Linked DNA regions of Homo sapiens: regions 1, 2, 3, 4, 5 and 6 are each linked to region 7. Evidence: promoter capture Hi-C in 16 types of primary human blood cells and fetal thymus (Javierre and others, 2016). All regions are on one chromosome and are shown on one strand. Each heading gives the region's core, a stretch centred on a gene start or on the middle of the fragment in contact. The rest is flanking DNA. Distances are from core to core; before and after follow the strand shown.

What was found. Contacts are between HindIII fragments. The CHiCAGO score rates a contact against its expected background, and 5 or more counts as called.
Region 1: a contact is called between the fragment with the promoter of GPRC5B here and the fragment with the promoter of GP2 in region 7, in 3 of 17 cell types (M0 macrophages, M1 macrophages and M2 macrophages). The highest score is 7.9, in M0 macrophages.
Region 2: a contact is called between a fragment that was not itself captured here and the fragment with the promoter of GP2 in region 7, in 4 of 17 cell types (endothelial precursors, M1 macrophages, M0 macrophages and 1 more). The highest score is 7.0, in endothelial precursors.
Region 3: a contact is called between a fragment that was not itself captured here and the fragment with the promoter of GP2 in region 7, in 6 of 17 cell types (M0 macrophages, M2 macrophages, M1 macrophages and 3 more). The highest score is 14.4, in M0 macrophages.
Region 4: a fragment that was not itself captured here is called in contact with the fragment with the promoter of GP2 in region 7 in 1 of 17 cell types (M1 macrophages); the score reaches 6.1 in M1 macrophages.
Region 5: a contact is called between a fragment that was not itself captured here and the fragment with the promoter of GP2 in region 7, in 4 of 17 cell types (M2 macrophages, M1 macrophages, endothelial precursors and 1 more). The highest score is 8.8, in M2 macrophages.
Region 6: a fragment that was not itself captured here is called in contact with the fragment with the promoter of GP2 in region 7 in 5 of 17 cell types (M1 macrophages, M2 macrophages, endothelial precursors and 2 more); the score reaches 12.4 in M1 macrophages.

What each region holds. Positions count from the first base shown.
Region 1 is chr16:19,883,354-19,886,307 of GRCh38, reverse strand. It overlaps GPRC5B (G protein-coupled receptor class C group 5 member B), which reads left to right and starts at 1,460. Exons shown (of 4, transcript NM_016235.3): 1 at 1,460-1,581. RefSeq lists a silencer at 907-1,201 and an enhancer at 2,717-2,954. The HindIII fragment of the contact is 5,537 bases long and covers 1-2,954 here.
Region 2 is chr16:19,974,931-19,977,682 of GRCh38, reverse strand. LOC105371117 (a long non-coding RNA gene) reads right to left here and starts at 1,314. Exons shown (of 4, transcript XR_950895.2): 1 at 1,267-1,314. The HindIII fragment of the contact is 7,054 bases long and covers 1-2,752 here.
Region 3 is chr16:19,910,934-19,913,635 of GRCh38, reverse strand. No RefSeq gene overlaps it. Among named protein-coding and RNA genes, the nearest start is that of GPRC5B, 27 kb to the right of the region's middle. The HindIII fragment of the contact is 806 bases long and covers 921-1,726 here.
Region 4 is chr16:19,948,054-19,951,032 of GRCh38, reverse strand. No RefSeq gene overlaps it. Among named protein-coding and RNA genes, the nearest start is that of GPRC5B, 65 kb to the right of the region's middle. The HindIII fragment of the contact is 5,122 bases long and covers 1-2,979 here.
Region 5 is chr16:19,996,316-19,999,091 of GRCh38, reverse strand. No RefSeq gene overlaps it. Among named protein-coding and RNA genes, the nearest start is that of GPR139, 76 kb to the left of the region's middle. The HindIII fragment of the contact is 7,996 bases long and covers 1-2,776 here.
Region 6 is chr16:19,928,350-19,931,380 of GRCh38, reverse strand. It overlaps LOC105371116 (a long non-coding RNA gene), which reads right to left. Exons shown (of 3, transcript XR_950894.2): 2 at 2,373-2,494; 3 at 2,152-2,253. Among named protein-coding and RNA genes, the nearest start is that of GPRC5B, 45 kb to the right of the region's middle. The HindIII fragment of the contact is 8,332 bases long and covers 1-3,031 here.
Region 7 is chr16:20,326,026-20,329,093 of GRCh38, reverse strand. It overlaps GP2 (glycoprotein 2), which reads left to right and starts at 1,581. Exons shown (of 11, transcript NM_001502.4): 1 at 1,581-1,627; 2 at 2,627-2,756. The coding sequence starts at 2,663. The HindIII fragment of the contact is 1,228 bases long and covers 1,229-2,456 here.

The DNA.
Region 1 (2,954 bases), core at 211-2,710, 440 kb after region 7:
GTGGGGCGAAAAACTGCCATTATGGTTCTTCCTTTCCATTTTCCCTTGAATATAATAAAAGGTATCCCAGAGATGCGTGCCCAAGGGGGATGTGGCCTAACCGGACCGGAACTGGGAGGCTGGCAGGGAGGGATGGGAGTATCTGGAAGGGCCACGGTCCCCAAAGATCAGGGGCTGCCACTATTCCCAGAAGGAGGTGTTCTGCATCTCCCCTTCCTGCAGCCCCCGGGAGAGGGGAGCAGGGGTCCGTCCTATCCCTTTTGGTCTTATGTGGCTGGGATGGTTGCGGCGACGGGGGTAGAGATTGGGGGGCGCACCGCGGAGGGAGAAAGGAAATCTCACCCTGAGAATCTGGAGTGCAGGGAAGGGATGCTGCTCAAAGGTCTGTTTCTGGCTTTGGCGGGGGGCCACCTGAGACTGCCAGGGTTTGATGGTCTGAAGGTCACCCAGGGAACCAGCCCCATATGGGGTGCCGGAGCGCAGCTCCCAGGCCTGGTCGAAGCAATGCGACCTCGGAGAGGCCTGAGGACTAGGACGGGGTGAGGGGGACTCAGAGACGGCTGCCCCGGACCCCTCCTTCAAGCAGGTCCCACGGCCGCCCAGCGGACACGCGTCCGGGCTGTGCCCTGACCGTCTGCGGAGCGCACGGCCAGTGGCCCGGGCCGCTGAGTGTGTGAGCCCTGAAGGGCAGTGGACATGTGCGTACGTGGGTGATGTGTGCGGTAGGGGTGGTGGCGATCCTGCGTAGGGACCCACGTGAGGGGTGCACCGACTGGACGTGTGTGTTTCGAGGGGCCAAGGAAGCGGGTGTTGGTCCCAGTGTGCGTAAACGGACAACGACATCTGGGAGTTGGGCAGTGAGGAGAGAGAAGAGTGTGTCCAGGAGGAACCTGCCTGGAGGAGGCCTAGCGGTGTGTGTGCGCCTAGGTGTATACCGGGGCGTTGGTGACTTCGAGAGGCACCGGGCGGGATCGATCCTCTCTGCGTCCTGGACCTGGTGCTGGTGTGTTTCGGGGAAGTTACTGCTTATGAACCCCCCTTGGAGCGTGGCCTGGGGGCAGGAAGGCTTCCGCGCTGGGACCCCTGGGTCGCGATACCTCCCTCGGTAAGTGTATTGGCTAGGGGAGTGTTCCCGCAAATGGATCTACCCTGGGGAGTTGCCCGGCTCGTCTGGACTGCTTACGGGCGCACTGACGTTGTGGGGGGAATGTCCCCGAATTGGGGGCACGAGGTCGGGGGAATCGTCTCTGAGATCCGGGCTAGAAGCTACGAGCTTGGGCTCCGGGGGTGCATGCAGACGGCGCCTAGCCCCGCGCGGAACCGCCGGCGGGACCGGGGGTGGGGCTCGGAGGCCCGGGGGCGGGGCCGGCCGGGGGCGGGGGCGGGGGCGGGGCCGCGGCCGCTGCAGCAGCGCGGGCCGGGCCAGGGGGCGCCTCGCGCGGCAGCGACTCTGGCAGGCGCTGCAGTGAAGCTGGACCCGCAGGCGGGCGTGCGTGGAGCGGGGGCCGCGGCCGCGCCGCAGAGATGTGACTCGGGCCGAAGGCCAGCTGGAGCGTCGGCGCTGCGGGGCCGCGGGGGTCGGTAAGTGCGAGCTGCGCCGATGCAGTGGAGGACGCTGTGGGGACCCCAGAAACTTTTCCCGCCGTGGATTTGGGAGAATTGGGGGGTCCGCTTCTTGTGTTTTTCTAAGCGCCCCCCCAACCCAAGCCAGGGAGTTTATTGCTGGGGGAGATGTGGAATCTGGGCGAGGGGAACCACGGTGCGACGAGAGCAGAGCCGTAGAGGGGTGGGCGGGGGAGGGGAGGATCTGGGGACCTTTACGGGGGGAGGGAGACTGTGCCCGGACCAGGTAGAGATCCAAGTCTCCCAGGAGGGTGTGGGGGCGACCACAGGTGAAGGGCAGCTGGGAGGGTAAAGGAGCCCAGCCGTGTCCTAGTGACTCGTCATGTGTGAGGAGCTGCGGGCTGGTCCTGGGGCCGCGTTGGGGGCTGACTGTGGACAGGGCAGACGCAGCCGGGGGCACAAGGGCTGGACTTTGGGGGTGAACAGCCGCACCTGTCGCGGGGGCTGGGGGTCAAGCCCGCAGCCGGCTTGAGTGCGCATTACTCAGCAAGGGGAGGGGGGGACACGGCGGTGGGAGATGGCAGAGCTGAGACCTGGGCTGGGGACGAATGACGGGGAGGGGTGGGGAGGAGGGGGCGGCTGCATACAATGGCGGGGGGGGCAGTGGCGTTTCCCTTCCAGACAGGGGGCACTTGGACCTCTGGAAGAGGCGGCTAGGCTGGAGATAAGGACTAGACCTGTTCTCGGTCCCCTCTCCTTGGGGGACACAGGCTTCCAGCCCCACAAGGACCCCACACATCCCGGGGTCCCTAGCGCTTAGGCCGAAAAGGGAGCGCGCGGGAGGAGCCCGCACCCGCCTTGGCCCCGGGCAGCCGGTTGAACAGCCTGGGAAGGGGCCAACGACCTTGCCCCAGAAATCTCCCCCGTGCAGCGGGTTCACTCCTCCGTCCTTGCTCTGTCACACCCAGGCCTAGCCAGTCCTCCCTTTCCGTCCCCCGTTCGCTAAGGGGGCGGCTCCTTGGAGCGCGGACAAAGGCCCCTGGAGTGTGGCGGGCAGCGGCGTCCCCGCCTGGGGCCCCAGCCCACGCGCCACATTGGCCGCCCAACTGCACCAGGCCGGGGGGCACCTGAACAGAGCCCAGAAAGCCCTGGGGGACCCCGCAAAGACAAGAGAAGTGGGGGAGGGATCTGGCACAAAAACCCCGGCACTTCAGCCAAGGAACCTTCTTAATTCAGAAGTTTCTTCGGTGGGGACTCGGGCTTGCGGAGGATCCAGGCTTTGAGTTAAACTGCATGCAAATGACATGTAAATAGAATGCAAATTGGCATCTGTCGTTTGGAAGCCCTCCCGGCCAGTTTGGTATCTAAGACTGTGGAGTGAACAGTTTGCT
Region 2 (2,752 bases), core at 97-2,596, 350 kb after region 7:
GTGGTAGACAGAATTCTAAGAGGGCACCCAGTGATCCCTGCTCCCTGGTATTCAAGTCCCAGTATAACTCCCTCCTCTTGAGTGTGCAAGGGACCTGTGACTTGTTTTTAATCAACAAAACACAACCAACGTGATGGGATGCTGTTTCCACATTGGGTTACAAAAGAATGTGATTCCTGTCTTGCTAGCAGACTCTATTACTTGCACATTCTGACAAGGACCCATGTGGCAATAAACAAGAGGAACTGAGGTCCTCACTCCAACAACCACAAGGAACTAAATCCAGCCAATGACCACATGAGTTGGAAAGCAAATCCTTCCCCAGTAGAGCCTTGAGATGACCAAATCCCCAGCTAACACCTTAACTGCAGCCTGCGCAGATGAGCTCTGCCTGAATCCCTGAGCCACAGAAACTGTAAAATAATAAATGTGTATTCTTCTAAGCCACTGAGTCTTGTGGAAATTTATTAACCAGCAATAACTAATACACCATTCAATCACTGATTCATTCAAACATTCACTGAGCCCCTACGACATACCAGGCACAATACTAGGGGAGGGGACACAGAAATAACTGGGGCATGGTCTGTATCCTCAGGTTGTTCATTCTAGTGCAGGATCTGACTTGCATATAAATGAGAGCAAGGTACACAGCCTGCAGGAAATAATGCGGAATCCATGCACAAGGATGCAGGGTTAATGTGTGCATGGCAATCTCCTTCCTCAAAATGTAAGTCCTAAGTACTAAGAAATGTACATTTTTTTACTTACAATTTAAAGGGAAAATTTAGTTTAAAATAAAGGAGAAAAGAAACACAAATGTGTCCATCAACAGGAGAATGACCCCAAAAAAGAAAACCAAAACACAGTTATATTTGCAGGCCATGAATCCCATAAAGTATCTAGCAGCCATTAAAAATAATGAAGTAAGTTTATATCTGTCTATATAAGTCTGTATCTGTCGATATGGAAAAAACTCCAAGACACATTGCTGGTTGAATTTGTTAGGAAAAAAATAGCTTGATTGTAAATAGTATCTTATTGAATAGTTGTATGAGAAACAACTATTCAATAAGACACTATTTACAATTTAAAAATAACCAATTTTGGCTAGGCACAGTGGCTCATGCCTATAATCCCAACTCTTTGGGAGGCCGAGATGGGTGTATCACTTGAGGACAGGAGTTTGAGACCAGGCTGGCCAACATAGTAAAACCTCATCTCTACTAAAAATACAAAAAATTAGCCAGTCGTGGTGGTACTCACCTGTAATCCCAGCTTCTCGGAAGGCTGAGGCAGGAGAATTACTTGAACCTGGGGGGCGGAGATTACAGTTAGCCAAGATCACCCACTGCACTCCAGCCTGGGTGAAAGAGCAAGACTCTCTCTCTCAAAAAAAAAAAAAAATCCATTGTGCACACACATATGCATGAACATACACACATAAATAGCATTTACCTTCAATGATACATAAACATGTACAGTAGGTAGAGAACTGTACAATGAGGATTAAGGACACAAACTATGGACTCAGACTTCTGGGACCCAACTTCCAGTTATGCCATTTACTGGTTATGTGACCTTGAAAACATTTCTGAAATGTTTTGAGCCTCAGTTTCTTCATCTGTAAAATGGAAATGATAATGGTGGTATGGTTTGGCTGTATCCCCACCCAAAATCTCATCTTGAATTGTACATTTGTATAATTTGTAATCCCCGTAATCCCCATGTGTCAAGGGAGAGACCAGGCGGAGGTGTCCGAATCATGGGAGTGGGTTCCCTATGCGTTTTTGATAGTGAGTGAATTCTCACGAGATTTGTTGGTTTTGTAAGAGGCTCTTCCCCCTTTTCTCAGCACTTCTCCTTCCTGCTGTCTTGTGAAGAAAAGGCCTTGCTTCCCCTTTGCCTTCTGCCATGATTGTAAGTTTCCTGAGGCCTCTCCAGACATGCTGAACTGTGAATTAATTAAACCTCTTTCCTTTATAAATTACCCAGTCTCAGGCAGTTCTTTATAAGAGTATGAAAACAAACTAATACAAATGGTATATACATCATAGGGTTATTGTGAGGATCAAATGAGCTAATATAAAGTTGATGCAAAGTAAGTTCTCAATGAATGTTTGCTATTATCAGGACTAATACAATGGTTATTATTACTCCTACGACCACTAATGATCTGCAACGATAGATACAAAATAAAAATAATGAAAAGAAAAAAGAAAAATAAGATAATAATATAAACAACAGGGGTATTGGAATGAGAATGGAGAAAAAAAGGGTCTCTATACATATGTGTAATTTCCATTTTTTACAGGGACAACAGTTCAGGTATTGTGTAACTAACAACCAAAATCAAGAAATAGATAGTCAAATAAATAGTCAATTGAAACCAACTCATAAATAGTCAAATAGTAATACAGGTGCTCACGTATCGTGGGGCGCGAAGCAGGAAAGTACTCCGTTTTCTCTGAAAATGGAGAGGGTGTCATGGCAGGCTCTATGGAAAATGCGATTCACCCAGAAACCACCCCTCCCACTGATATTTTCTCCAAGTGCAAATTTTCCTCTTTGTCGTCTTTGTCTGAAGAAGCACTGTGAGGCCTTCCAGAGTCCCCTACAGATTGATAAAGGTCCTGTTGAGAACCTGGGGAAGTGCAGGGTTGAGGGGCAAAAGCTGTTCCCAAAGTTTCCCAGAAACCCAGGAGGACGGCTGGGCCAGCTGCCAGCATGGCCTGGCTGGACCCTCCAGGAT
Region 3 (2,702 bases), core at 74-2,573, 420 kb after region 7:
GCCTATTTTTATGATTCCTCTTCCCAGTGAGTGTTGTGTATATTTTTGGGCTGTGTTCCTCTCATAAATAAATAAATGTGTAGGTAAATACTAATAAGAGCTAGCATTTATTAAGCACTTGGCGTGGTGCCAGGGATGGTGCTGAGGGGTTTGCCTGTTATTTTATTTCACCATCATGATGACCTAATGAAACTGGCACCATAATGATCCGCATTTTACAGGAAAGGAAACTGACACTCAGAGGGATGAGGTCATTTGTCATTTCCCCCAAAAAAGGGGCAGAACAGGGATTTGACCTCAAGTCTGTCTGATCCAAAGCCCCGATTACTGAGTTCTGAGCAGCTCGTGTGGACATGAACCCAAACTTCATCTCACTTCCTAAGTGCCTTCCTTCCTTCGGTCCCCACTAATTAAGCTTCTGCCGTCGATGCCAAGCCGGACAGGGAAATGCTAAGTGCTCAAACTAAGCTGATGATTTGAAAATGCCAATAGTCCTTCATTTCTGCTGACCACCCTGAGCCTGGGGCCGGCTCACTCCTGAGCCTGGGACCCAGAACAACGTAATGGATGAGCCGCGTGTTGAGCAATGCTTTATGCCATTCAGGAGTGACTCGGGCTGAGCTCATCTCAGTAGTCAGCGTGTTAATTACAACTGCCCAAATGAGGCCCATTCATCCATTAATACCAATGAGCCAGCTCCAGAAGGCAGAGGCAAGATGACTCGCACTCATGAATCTTGCTCATTGTAGATTCGACAACCACCATGGCCTGGCCACCCAGGCTACATCTTCATTGATATCGAATTATTTGTACTTCCCCTGCAAGTCTCTCCAATTTTCACCCCATCCTTTCCCAAAGAAGACCTCAAAGAAGAAGCAAAAGGCAGCATGCCTGGCACAAAAGACGTGGGCTTCAAAGCTTGAGAGACTCGGTCGAATCCTGGCTCTGCCACTGACCAACAGAGTGACCTTAGGCAGGTCATTTCATGTCTCTGGGCCTCAGTTATCCCATCTGTCAAATGGGGCTAATCACTTCCACCCCTCTTTCGTGTTCATACTGGGAGCTAGAAGATGTGATATCTAAATGTTCCAGCTTGCAGCAAGGCTCAGCGCATGTTAGCTGTTGTTACTAATTGTATCATTAGATGGCTTGGATCACTTTCACGTCATTTCCCCCAGCGCACTGGGGTTTATGGGATGGCAGCTACCATGTGGCTGGAGAGTGATTCCCAAATTTCAGTGCACTGGGGATGCTTGTTTAAAACACAAGATCTGAAGCCCCCAGCCATTCTGATTCCAGAGTAGAGCTGAAGACTGCGTGTTTGGTAACCACCTCGGGGTTTAAGGCTTTCAGACAGCCGTTCTCAGCCCTGCCTACACACTGGGATCACGGGGAAGCGGGGAAAGGAAGTGGGGGAGGTGGGGGGGAAGAGGTTTAGTTTTTTTAATGCCTGGATCCTAACTGCAGAAATTCTGATGTTCTGGGGCCCTTGTGTGGCTGGGATATCAGGATTTTTTTCTAAAGTTCCCCCAGATGATTTTAATGTGCAACCAGGGCTGAGACCTACTGCTATCAGCCAGTGTTTCTCAGAGCGTGGTGCAGGGACCCACACATCGGCATCAGGCTCACTGGGAACGTGTCTGAAATGCAGATTCTCCCTCTGTCCTACCTCAACCTGCTGATTCAGAGACTCTGGGGGTGGGACTTAGCACTGATTTATAAAGCTTTCAAAGGGATTCATTTTTTTGGTGTTTTTTTTTTTTTCTTTTTTTTTTGGATACAAGGTCTGGCTCTGTCACCCAGGCTGGAATGCAGTGGTGCAATCACAGCTCACTGCAGCCTCAACCTCCTGGGTTCAAGTGATCCTCCCACCTCAGTCTCCTGAGTAGCTGGGACTACAGGCTCGAACCACCATGGCTGGCTAATTTTGGGTTTTTTTTTTGTAGAGATAGGATCTCCATATGTTGCCCAGGCTGGTCTCAAACTCCTGGGCTCAGGCAATCCCCCCGGCCGGGGCATCCCAAAGTGCTGGGATTACAGGCATCAGCCACCAATGTCAGGCTCCCCTGGTGATTCTGACACACACTTAAGTTTAAGAACCCCTGCTATAAGGCCTGGCATCCCCCAGACTTCATGCTGTTAAGAACCACTTGGGGAAGAGGTTTGTTATTGCTCCCTTTTCCCACCCTTTCTCTTTTGAACACTGTTGTGTCGTGATGTGAAGCTTGGAGCTTTGGCAGCCATCTTACAAACATGAGGTAAAAACCAAGGCTTCACAGAGATAGCACCCCAGTGCCTCGCAGTCACTGAGTCACTGCCCCAACCTCTGACCCTCTACTTCCAAACTTCCCATTAGCTAAATGCCTTGATTGTTTAAGCTCCTATTATTTGAGTCTTCTCTTACTTGCAATGGAACACATTTTTTATTGGTATAAGTATTCCCAACACAGTATGAGTGCATAGAACAACTTTAAAAGATCCCTGCGATAGGCTGGGCATGGTGGCTCATGCTTATAATACTAGCACTTTGGGAGGTCAGGAGGACCTCTTGAGCCTAGGAATTTGAGACCAGCCTGGGTAACACAGTGAGACCCTGTCTCTACAAAAATTAAAACAAAATTAGTTGGGTGTGGTGGCACGTGCTCATAGTCCCAGCTACTCGAGAAGCTGAGGTGGGAGGATTGCTTGGGCCCAGGAGTTCA
Region 4 (2,979 bases), core at 225-2,724, 380 kb after region 7:
CCGTTGCACAGGCTGGAGTGCAGTGGCGCGATCTCGGCTCACTGCAACCTCCACCTCCAGGGTTCAAGCAATTCTCCTTCCTCAGCCTCCCACATAGCTGGGATTACAGGCATGCACCACCATGCATGGCTAATTTTTGTATTTTTAGTAGAGACAGGGTTTCGCCATGTTGGCCAGGCTGGTCTTAAAGTCCTGACCTCAGGTGATCCACCTGTCTCAGCTTCTCAAAGTGCAAGGATTACAGGTGTGAGCCACCACAGCCAGCCTGAACTTTTCTTATTGTGCAGAAAACCCATACTGACAGTCACCCCTAGGCGTCCCTGGTGCCTTCCTGAAGACCAGCCAGGCATCCCCAGCACCCTGTCTCAGGCATTCTCCCCACACTTAAAGGACCACACGTGAGACAGATGCCCAGAAAGATGACAGGCCTCTCTTCTCCATCAGAGGTGACAAAGGAAAGTGAAGTAATGAGGGGTTTTGAATAGAGTTACAGGATCAAGGGCCAAGGTGCCAGGTAGGGAGAGTGACAAGAGAGAGAGGGATTTTCTTGGGACTCAACCCCAAACCAACTTAGGCCAGGGGAGGGATGCAGCCCATCTCACTGCCTGCTGGGTTGATCAGACCCAGATATCACCTGTTTCCATCCATCCCTCAGGGATGTCTATAAGTAAAACAGGGAAGCCATTTCAAGGTTTCTCAAGGATATCTCTTTAGGCCAGGGGTCCCCAACCCCGGTCCATAGCCTGTTAGGAACTGGGCCACACAGCCGGAAGTGAGCAGTGGACAAGCAAGCGAGGCTTCACCTGTGTTTATAGCTGCTCCCCATTGCTCCATTGCTCACATTACCATCAGATCAATAACAGCATCAGATTCTCATAGGAGCACAACCCCATTGTGAACTGCACATGCAAGGGATCTAGGATGTGCACTTTTTTTTTTCTTTTTTTGAGATAGAGTCTCGCCCTGTCACCTGGGCTGGAGTGCAGTGGCCAGATCTCGGCTCACTGCAACCTCCACCTCCTGGGTTCAAGCGATTCTCCTGCCTCAGCCTCCTGAGTTGCTGGGATTACAGGTGCATGCCACCACGCCCAGCTAATTTTTTTGAATTTTTAGTAGCGACAGGGTTTCACCATGTTGGTCAGGCTGGTCTCAAACTCCTGACCTCATGATCCACCTGCCTTGGCCTCCCAAAATGCTGGGATTACAGGTGTGAGCCTCCGTGCCTGGCTGGGTTGTGCACTTCTTATGAGACTCTAATGCCTGATGATCTGTCTCTGTCTCCCATTACTCTCAGATGGGACCATCTAGTTGCAGGAAAACAAGTTCAGGGCTCCCACTGATTCTGTTATTGTGAGTTTTATAATTATTTCATTATATATTACAATGTAATAGAAATAAAGTCCACAATAAGTGTAATGCACTTGAATCATCCCCAAACCATCCCCCCGACCCTGGTCCATGGAATAATATTCTTCCACAAAACTGGTCCCTGGTGCCAAAAAGGTTAGGGACCACTGCTTTAGGCTACCCAAAACAGTAAGAAGTAGGAGACAAGAAGTAAAGCACCCTGAGTGACAGAAAAGACAGGAAAGGGAAAGGAGAGAAAGAGAAAGAAGGGGAGGGAGAAAACCATTGCTAGCTGTGGGGAGGCGAGGAAGTTCGGGAGGCTTGAGAAAGACTCACCCATCGCAATGACACTGAATCAAAAGTTCAGGTGGCCGTTTGCCAGCCGCAAAGGGATCTTGTCCAGCAGTCCCATCAGCTTGCAAGTCTCCCCCTCAGAGAGAGAAAGACTCCCCATGTCCTGTAATCCCAGACAAGCCCCCAAAGAATATGTTAGCAACCACAGGTTCCTGGGCTCTCAATGCAATAGAAATCGACATGGTTCCAAAAGAGTTTTCCCAAACAAGGCTTCATTGGAACTTATGCTTGGGCATAAGGGAGGCAGCATAAGAGAGAGAATTCCCTGAACTGATGCCCTGAAAAGAGCAGGTAGGGCTTTTTTACTAATCAAAGCACAGGAATTGACATCGGGGTAGAGTATGGAGGCTGGGCTGGGCAAAGCACGTGAAGGTAGGGTATGCAGGTCAGCAGATCTCCTTGCAATGGTTATCCTGAGTCATGGGCCACCTGGTGGTCCAGACTGCAGCAACACGGCTGCAAACAAATTGTTCAGCATTCCTTCCCCAGGTGGGACACTCCACAACCTTAGTTTTCTCCTAGAGCCAGTTCCTGGAATTTTTAGTAGTGAGGTCGTGGTGGGGTTTTGTGATGGGCGGGAATGCATGAAAGAATGCTGCAGTGGGGGTGAGCTGAAACCAAGCCCCATCTCTACCGTGTCTCACTAAGTGCTCCATAAATATCTCTTGAATTAAACAAAGTGCTTCCTGTAGGAATATCTGGTGATGGAATTCCCAGAGTCATTCTCAATAGCTTGGCACTAAAGCAACTGAAGTCCTCCATATTTTTGTAATTTTTTTCAGGGGTAAAAAGCAATCCTGATGAGTTCTGGCAACTAAAGTATAAAATAAACAAAAGACATTCTTAAGTTGGAAACAGATGCCCTTCACACAGTAGGATTTGTATCTGCACGATTGAGGAGGATAAAAAGCAGGTTTAATTAACAAGACAACAGGGAGGCCCAGGGAGTCATTCATGTGGATTCTGAGTGCAACCCTGGATTCTTTCAATGGCTTTTGGGGTTAACATGATGGTTCTCTGTGACATTGGTGTGCCAGATCGAAACTAGAGTTGTTCCTTCACCTTAATTCAGATACATCACCCAAACTGTTCTACCACTTGGCAGGCCTTGTTATGACATCTGAGGCTTTTTTTTTTTTTTTTTTTTGAGACAGGATCTCACTCTGTCACCCAGGCTGGAGTGCAGTGGCACGATCTCGGCTCACTGCAACCTCTAGCTCCCGGGTTCAAGTGATTCTCCTGCCTCAGCCTCCTGAGTAGCTGGGATTACAGGCACCC
Region 5 (2,776 bases), core at 25-2,524, 330 kb after region 7:
AGAAAGTAGTTTGCTTGGTGAGTGGCCAAAAATGGAAGTGTTCCATATTCAATATACTGCCATTCATTGTGCCTTTTGAAAAAATAGTCCCAGACTGTCCCATGTGTCAACTGAACACATGGTCAGCGCCAGGCACTAGGAATACAAAAATGAATAAGAGAAGCTCACTGTTCTCCCAGGGCCCATGTGAAACAGAAAAAAAAAAAAAAAAAAAAAAGGGACCAAGAAAGCTCAGCAGCCAGGAGCCTGGGGAAGAGCCCTGTGCTAGGAGTCAGGAGATTTGGGTTCACATTCAAGTCTAAGCCTGCCCCATGGAGCAATTTGGAGCAAGTCTCTTTAGATCTCAGCTTCCTCAGCTACCTCTATAATAGGGGTAAGGGCACTGGACTACCTACCATTAAAGGGTGATTTGGAAGCTCACTAGACAGCCTGTAGGTGACAGTGCTCTGTCAGGGTAAGGGAGTCATTGCAGTTGATTGGTTACAAAACTGTCCTCAATTCTCCACCCCTTCTGGTGTTCCTATTTGATATGATTTGGATGTGTCCCCACCCAAATCTCATCTTGAATTGTAGCTCCCATAATTCCCACATGTTGTGGGAGGGGCTCGGTGGGAGATCACTGAATCACGGGAGCAGTGTCACCCATACTGTTCCCCTGGTAGTGAATAAGTCTTTCAAGATCTGATGGTTTTATAAGACATTTCCCCTTTCACTTGGCTCTCATTCTCTTTTGCCTGCTGCCATGTAAGATGTCCCTTTTGTCTTCTGCCATGATTGTGAGGCTTCTCCAGTGAGTCCATTAAACCTCTTTTTCTTTATAAATTACCCAGTCCAAGTATGCCTTCATCAGCAGCATGAAAACAGACTAATACACTATCTTTTACGATCTGGCTTTGCAACTACTGCCATCAAAAGGTAGACTCTTTCCCCATCCCTCGATCTGGCCTGGGCTTGTGACTTGTGCTGGCCAACTAGAGTAGAAGTGAGGGTGTGTGAGTCTCAAGGTTACGCCTAAAGAGACCTGCTCTCCCATTCACTGTCAGAACACTGCCGTCACCTTGAGGACAGCCTGAGCCACCCTGCAGGAGGATGAGAGACCAACGGACACCAGCCCAGTTGTCCCAGCCAAGGCCAACATGTGAGAGAGCCCAGCCAAAATCAGCAGAACCTCCTACACAACCCACAGATATGTAAACAAGCCCAGCAGAGGCCAGAAGAACCACCCTAATGATCCATAAATGGTGGTTGTTTCAAGCCACTGAGTTTTGGAGTAATATTTTTTTTACAGCATTATTGTGGCAACAGATAATGGATATGGTAGTCCGTGGCTTCAGCATCCTGTTACTACAAAATAAGGTCACATTAACTTGCAAACAAAACAATTTAAATACTATGTCCCATTTTTTTTAATTAAATAGTACAGAAAGGGATAAAGAGAGATCATCAAACCTTTTCTGTAAAGGGCCAAATAGTAAATATTTTAGACTTTGTGGGACATATGGTCTGTGCCATGCAGGCTGTTGTAGCTACTCAATTCTGCCTTTGAAGCTCAAAAGCAGCCACAAACAATATGTAAACAAATGGACATGGCTGTGTGCCAATAAAACTGTGTTTACAAAAACAGGCAGCCAGCTGAGTTTGGCCCAAGGGCTGTAGTTTACTGGCCCCTGGCATAAAGTAAACAGCAAAACTCCTTCTTTTTCCTCTCTCTTCCCCTCTCAGAGGTAATTACAGTTAACAGTTTCTTCAGTATTCTTCTAAACATTTTCTACCTGTAAATGTCCTTTAAACACACACACAGGCCAGGCGCGGTGGCTCATGCCTGTAATCCCTGCACTTTGGGAGGCCAAGGCAGGTGGATCATGAGGTCAGGAGATCGAGACCACGGTGAAACCCCGTCTCTACTAAAAAAAATACAAAAAATTAGCCGGGCATGGTGGTGGGCACCTGTAGTCCCAGCTACTCGGGAGGCTGAGGCAGGAGAATGGTGTGAACCCGGGAGGCGGAGCTTGCAGTGAGCCAAGATGGCGCCACTGCACTCCAGCCTGGGCGACAGAGCGAGATTCCGTCTTAAAAAAAAACAAACACACACACACACACACACACACACACACACACACACATAAATGGTATCATACTATCTGCTGGCACAAACTCAAAATTTTCACAGAATATGTCTTAGATATTTTTCTGTGTCAGCACTTATGGGGTGACATTATTGTCTTTGATTGCTGCAAAATATTTCATAGTAAGGATGTACCATGCTGGACTTTCAGTGGTTTTTCAATATTTTATTCTCCAAATGAATGCTGCAATGGACATCCTCATATAGATAAATTTTGATACACAGCCTAGATTAGTTTTCTTCATGACCTTTATTCAAAAGCATTTAGACAAAAGCTCAGTTAGTGACTGATATAATCCAGGCATTGTGTTAGGTGCTGGGGGGTCCAGAGATGAAGCCACTGGTCTTCCCTTAAATTGCTCATGGTGTCAGCCAGTGGTAATGTCGATAAATTTACTGAGCATTTACTACAGGCCACCCACAGTGCAGTGATATTTACATGCATCATCTCACCCAATCTTCACAACAAAAGCACCCTATGAGGCAAGTCCCATTATCAGCCCCACTTTGCAGATGAGACTAAAGCTCAGAGAGATTGAGTAACTTACCTGATGCCACACAGCTAGCAATAAATCAAACTGGAATTCAAACCCAGGTTCCTGACCATGCTGTCTACACTTGGGAATCAATTGCAAGTAGGAGCTCAAAAGA
Region 6 (3,031 bases), core at 337-2,836, 400 kb after region 7:
TGCAGTGGCTCGCACTTTAATCCCAGCGCTTTGGGAGGCTGAGGCAGGAGGACCACTTGAGTCCAGGAGTTTGAGACCAGCCTGGGCAACAGAGCAAGACCTCATCTCTACAAAAAAAAAAAATAATAATAATTAGCTGGGTGTGGTAGCATTTGCTATATTCCTAGCTACTCACAAGGCTGAGGCAGTAGTAGCTCTTGGGCCCAGGAGGTAGAGGCTGCAGTGAGCTCTGATAGCCCCACTGCACTCCAACCTGGGTGACAGAGCGAGATTCTGTCTTAAAAAAAAAAGAAAAAAGAAAGAAAGAAAGAAAGAAAAGAAAATGGGGCTAGTGAGAGCACCTACCTCATAGAGTCACAGTGAAGATTAAATGAGATAATGCACTTAACAAAATGTCCTGCACACAGTAGGTACTCAATAAACTGAAGTTCTGGCGTACAACCTTAAAGGTTTGCACCGTTTATACTCTTTCGCAGGGTCCCACCAAGGGCTAAAGGCACACATGAGCTGCGGAGCTGAGGTCGTGACTGTGGGACTTCGGCAAATCCTGTCACCTCTTCAAAAAGGGCTCTTACCAGGTTCAAATGCAGTAATACATACCAAATGCATCGCCCAGGGCTTGGCACTAGTCGTTGTTTTATGACTGTTGCTATCACTTTTGACTAACATGTATTAGGTACTGTTCCAAGCACTTCATGTGTACTAACCCATTTAATCTTGAGACAGCTCTAGGTAGTACTATTATTTTATTATTGTGCTAATCATCATCTCTACTTACAGATAAGAAAATGAAGACACATAGAGGTTGATTTGTCTATAGAATGTCCAAGAGTAAGTGGCAGAGTTGGGATTTGAACCCAGGCAGTCTGACTCCCAAGTTCCCAGTCCGAACTACCACGCTCTGCTATCTGGTTATTTTAACACACTTCGCCTATCTCACCAGGTTGGACAAGGATCAAATAGGACATGGTAGAGTCCAAATTCTTTAGAAAAATTGCAAAATCAAGAATTCAGGCTGGGCATGGTGGCTCATGCCTGTAATCCTAGCACTTTGGGAGGTGGAGGTGAGTGGATTGCCTGAGCTCAGGAGTTCGAGACCAGTCTAGGCAACATGGTGAAACCCCATCTCTACTAAAAATACAAAAATTAGCCAGGCATGGTGGCACACACCTGTAGTCCCAGCTATTTGGGAGGCTGAGGCACGTGAATTGCTTAACCCCAGGAGGCAGAGGTGGTAGTGAGCCGAGACTGCACCACTGCACTCCAGCCTGGGCAAGAGTGAGACCCTGTCTCAAAACTAATAATAATAATAATTCAGGCAAACCCGCCAAACGGTCCAAAATTCACCTTGAAAAAATCCCTTATTTCATCAATAAAGTAAGCATGGTTCTGAATATTTCGTAACTACCCCTGCCAGCCAGGTTTTTTCTCCAGCAGCAAAACGGAATGTCGATCCTTCAGTTAAACAACCTAAAAAATACCTATTGGAGGGTTGTTTGGTTTGATTGCTTGGCTGGGTGATGATATATTACCCAAGCGTGCATGGTATAACCCCCACTAAGTTAAATGGGCATGTGGTGTGACTCCACCACACCATGCAGAAATGCTGAACTAACTCTCCAGAGGAATTATGGTACCAACTAACACTTACATATAGCCGCTATCACGTGTCAAGTGCTATTCTGTGTGTTTTACATAGACGTGTGGATGAATTTAATCCTGTCAATAGCCCTCAGAGGTCGGTATTGTTGTTATCACCCTCATCTTACATATGGGGAAACCGAGGCATGGAATTTCAGGCACTTGCCTGGCATGACCCAGTTGGATCTGACCCCAGACTCTCTGGCTCCAGAGTCTGTGCTGTCAGTGGCTGTGCCATGCCATCTGTCCAAGGGTCTCAAAGTGAAGGGAGATTACAACCCCACTGTCCTCCGTCCACGCCCCCAGCCACGTTCCTCTATGATCCAGCTGCTCCAAAGAGCCTGTTGGTCCCTGGGAAGAAACAGTCTCGTTGGATCCTCTCTGAAAGCTAATTCGGCCATTTACTCTCAATTTGTAGCGGATGCTGTCGTCTCTCAGATTTCAAAGAAGATGAATGCATGGGTCAAATTGGATTAAAAAGTTTAATTGAATAAGACAGAACCAGACAGCTTGATGGAAGACTTTGATCCGATAAAGGAAGAGGAGAAAGGCGTGCTCCTAACGCCGGGGTGTGATGGGGAGCTGTCTGGACCTCGTCTAGCCTCTTCTCATCTGCAGGAAAATCAGTTATGCCAATTATGGGTGAGATTGCCCTGGGGTGGTGTGGGGAAGACTGTTCCGAGGCATTTTCCAGATCATCATGTCCCGAAACAGGCTGACAGCTTGCCTACCTTCCTGTTCCATCTCCGCCTCCCGACAAACCCAGTTCTGAGCCTCTGAAACTGAGGGATCTTGCCTTAGACCTCACAAAACCCCTGTATCCTGGCCATAACAGGAACCCTACAAAAGAGATCTAAAAGAGAGAGAGAGATTGAGAAAGAGACACACACACCCATTAAACCAATGACCTGCAGGGAAGTCCAACCTATAGACTTGTTTAGTGGACACAGTGTTTTGTTTCCTTCCTAATTAGGAGATTTCCCATTGTATAATCCATATTTGTGTCTTCTCTTTAAATCTTGCTATTCAAAGTGAGGTCCACAGACCAGTAGCATTGGCACCAACTGGGAGCTTGTCAGAAATGCAAGAATCCCGGGGCCCACCCTAGATGTTCTGAACCACAATTTGCATTTTAACATTGAAGTTTGAAGGGTTTGCTTTAAAGCAGTGGTTCTCACCCACTGTGTGCATATCAGAATCACATGAAGAGCTTTGAAAAATCCAGGTGCTAAGCTCACATGCCATCTTTGAATTCAGAATCTCTGAGATTGGAACTCAAACTCCCAGGTTATTCCAATGGGAGGCCAAAGTTGAAAATCAATAGATTAGGCTGGGTGCTGTGGCTCACGCCTGTAATCCCAGCACTTTGTGAGGCCAAGGCAGGTGGATC
Region 7 (3,068 bases), core at 332-2,831:
TCTTAGAGACAGGATCTTGTAGCAACAGAGCAGAAATCTCCAGGTAGAAACAGGAGAATCAAGAAAATATGAACATGCGGAGTCAAGGAAATGCAAGGTACCCGGAACAAGCAGTAGGCAAATCCAATCACAAAGGAGCAGAAACAAACTACCCAGTGGATTTGGCTATAAAGTTGTAGCTACATGGTTCAGATTGGAATGGAGAAGCCAGAAGAGGGATGGAGGAACTGACTTTGAAAAGGAGGAACATCGCCTTATCAGAAGTTGGAGGGGGAAGGGGTGGAGGATGGAGACCAGTATTTATATGTTTACAGGGGAAGGAGCAAGGTCAGGTGTTGTGGCCTAAATTGTTTTTGAAGTAGGGTACCAGATATCTGCTGAGAAAGGTGGTGTGAGTGGGTGATAATAGCTGCAGAGACCATTTAAGAGGAATGGGAAGGTTAAGAGTGGCCACTGGGGAGACTGGGATGGGCACCTGGCCAGACTGAATGGATCAGTAGGTGATTTAGTGGGCCCAGTTGTCACAAGTTCCACATTTTAGAGACTATTTATTCTCCAGTTGCTCTGGGAGTAGAGAAGGTGGCTTGTAGCACCTTTTCTTTTTCCAGGTTGAGGTTTTGTAGAAGGTGTTACCAATGCCAAGACCCTCCTGCTCCCTTGACTCCAGTTGCCTTGGCTCCTTAAGGAGTCCCAGAGTGACAGAGAAGAAGCAGTGGCCATTTTTTCTGCAAAAGCTTTGGCTCTTTTATGAAGTCCATGATTTCTACCATGTCATGAAAGCCAGGTCCAAGCCTGGAGTTAATAAGTCCAAGATCCTCTACAGCCTCTTCTCAGTCTCATGCCTTCCAATCTCTAGGGCAGCCTACATATCAAAAGGGATTTACAGGGGCTACTCTGGTGCTTCTTTTGTCCAAGAACCTTTGTCTGTCCTTTGCCATTCCAAAATCCATCATCACCAAATTAGCCATTCCAAAACTGCTCAGCATTAGAAATCCGGAGTTGGGTAGATTCTATGGACCAATAAATGGAATTTTTCGAAACATCCACACTCCCTTCTTTCCTTTCCTATGTGTCCTCTTAGTCTAACTGGCCCCAAGCTCAGTGGCCTTCAGACAGAAGCAGAAATGTTCCAAGATGATTAGCTAGGAACACAAGGTACAACTGAAAATCCATTGTGCAAACAAGTGCCTGTTTGATTTTCTCTTCACTTCCCTTTGGGTATTAAGCTTCCTTTCAATTCGTGTTTGGTTTCTGGTAATAAATATGGCACCAGTTTCATTGATTAATTATGAAGATTAAATGTGAGAAGTCAAGAACGCAAAGCAGTGCCCAGCATGTTCAGCATTCAGCACACAGCACTATTGTTTGTAGGAAGCATTCGCACAATGCTGAGACAGCTGGAAGGGTTGACATTGTGAGGGGAGGGCCCTTCTTTCACCATCCTTTGCGTAAATGGCTTATCTCACCTCCACTCAACAAGCCCAGTGTATGGCCTAGAACTCCCATCATACCTGTGCACCAATTGAGGAGAGACACATGGGTGGGAAATTGCAATAAAAAGACGGCCCACAGCAGGCTGCATTCCCATGGCTGGCCAGAGGAGGAACGCTTTGTGTTCTCATCGGAGGTAAGTCCTGCTTTAAGCCCCAGGAGGCTTCCTCCTAATCCTGGGAAATCTTGATCCACTGGACATGCTAGGATTCTTTGTTTCTGGAAATTTTTAGAACCCAGCAAGTAGTTTGGACCCTGGCCATTGTCAAGTGCTCCAGGTACCACTCTATGTCCAACTCAGTCATGCTTCCAGTCATCTGCGATGCTCCAGGCCTACGGACGCCACCCTCTTCCTTGTCCCAGATATTCCCACCAGGGAACTAGGTCTCTATTGGGATCTCATCTCTAAGAATCACCAATCCTGGGTGCTTCCCTATCCCTGCTGTCTCATAGCATACTCATGGTATCCCTGCCCGAAACCGATCTCTATTTTCCACTGAAGTCTTCCAGAGGTTGTAGGAAGTTATCCAAAGATTTGGCCATTTAGGGAAAGTATTTCCCAGAAAAGTAAATGCCATCCAAATGCTGGCAGGCTTTTTTGCAGCTCTTTCTTTCTGCCTCGCCACCGCCCCCAACCCCCATTGATTTATTTATTCATCCTTAATCCTCTACTGAGTACTCCTTGTGTGCCAGATTCTGTACTAGGAGCAAGGAACATGAGGCTCGGTTTGGCATGGTTCCACAGTCACAGAAATCTACATCCATAGAGGACATTTCAGGGGGCTCTTAGCAGCACCCAATGCATAAAACTAAGAAAGGGCAGCCATTACTTTTGTGTGCAGGTATTCACAGGTACCATATCCCTTTTTCTCTATCCAATCTCCAAAGAGCCTCTACTTCCACCTGAGCAGGGACCATCCTGAGACCTTTCTAGGACATTCTGCAGTACTAGCCAGCTCTAAGCTTGCCTTTGGTTTGCTTACTGTCAATTTTATCACCCATTATCTCGCTCTATCTGTCCATAAGTCACACCTACTTTGAAACAATGCAGCTCTTTATGAAGGAAGTCAACGGATCTGTTTCTAAGAACATAGACCTATGCCCTAATCTTATCTTGGTCTTTTCTTTCCCATAGCTGCATGGGAAGTCTGCATACAGCAAAGTGACCTGCATGCCTCACCTTATGGAAAGGATGGTGGGCTCTGGCCTCCTGTGGCTGGCCTTGGTCTCCTGCATTCTGACCCAGGCATCTGCAGTGCAGCGAGGTAAGTATTCTGCTCACCTGGCATCTCAGATGTCAAGGAAGACCTAGCAAGTGAGGATAGAAGTGCAGAGAAGGTGGCTCAGGTAAGGAAGAGGAATTGGCAGTTCTAAAGCAAAAACTCAGAGCTAGAAGTCAAGGGAAACATAATGAGAAACAATGGAAATCAAGTCACAATCTCTCAAAGAGCCTAATCAGAAATTCCTCTGAAAGGGCAGTGGGAGCCAGTTAACATAATTTCCCATGCCCATATCTTTGGGAGATTAGAGACCCCAGATTAAAGAAGATCAAGAAATACATAACTCAGTCACCTTGT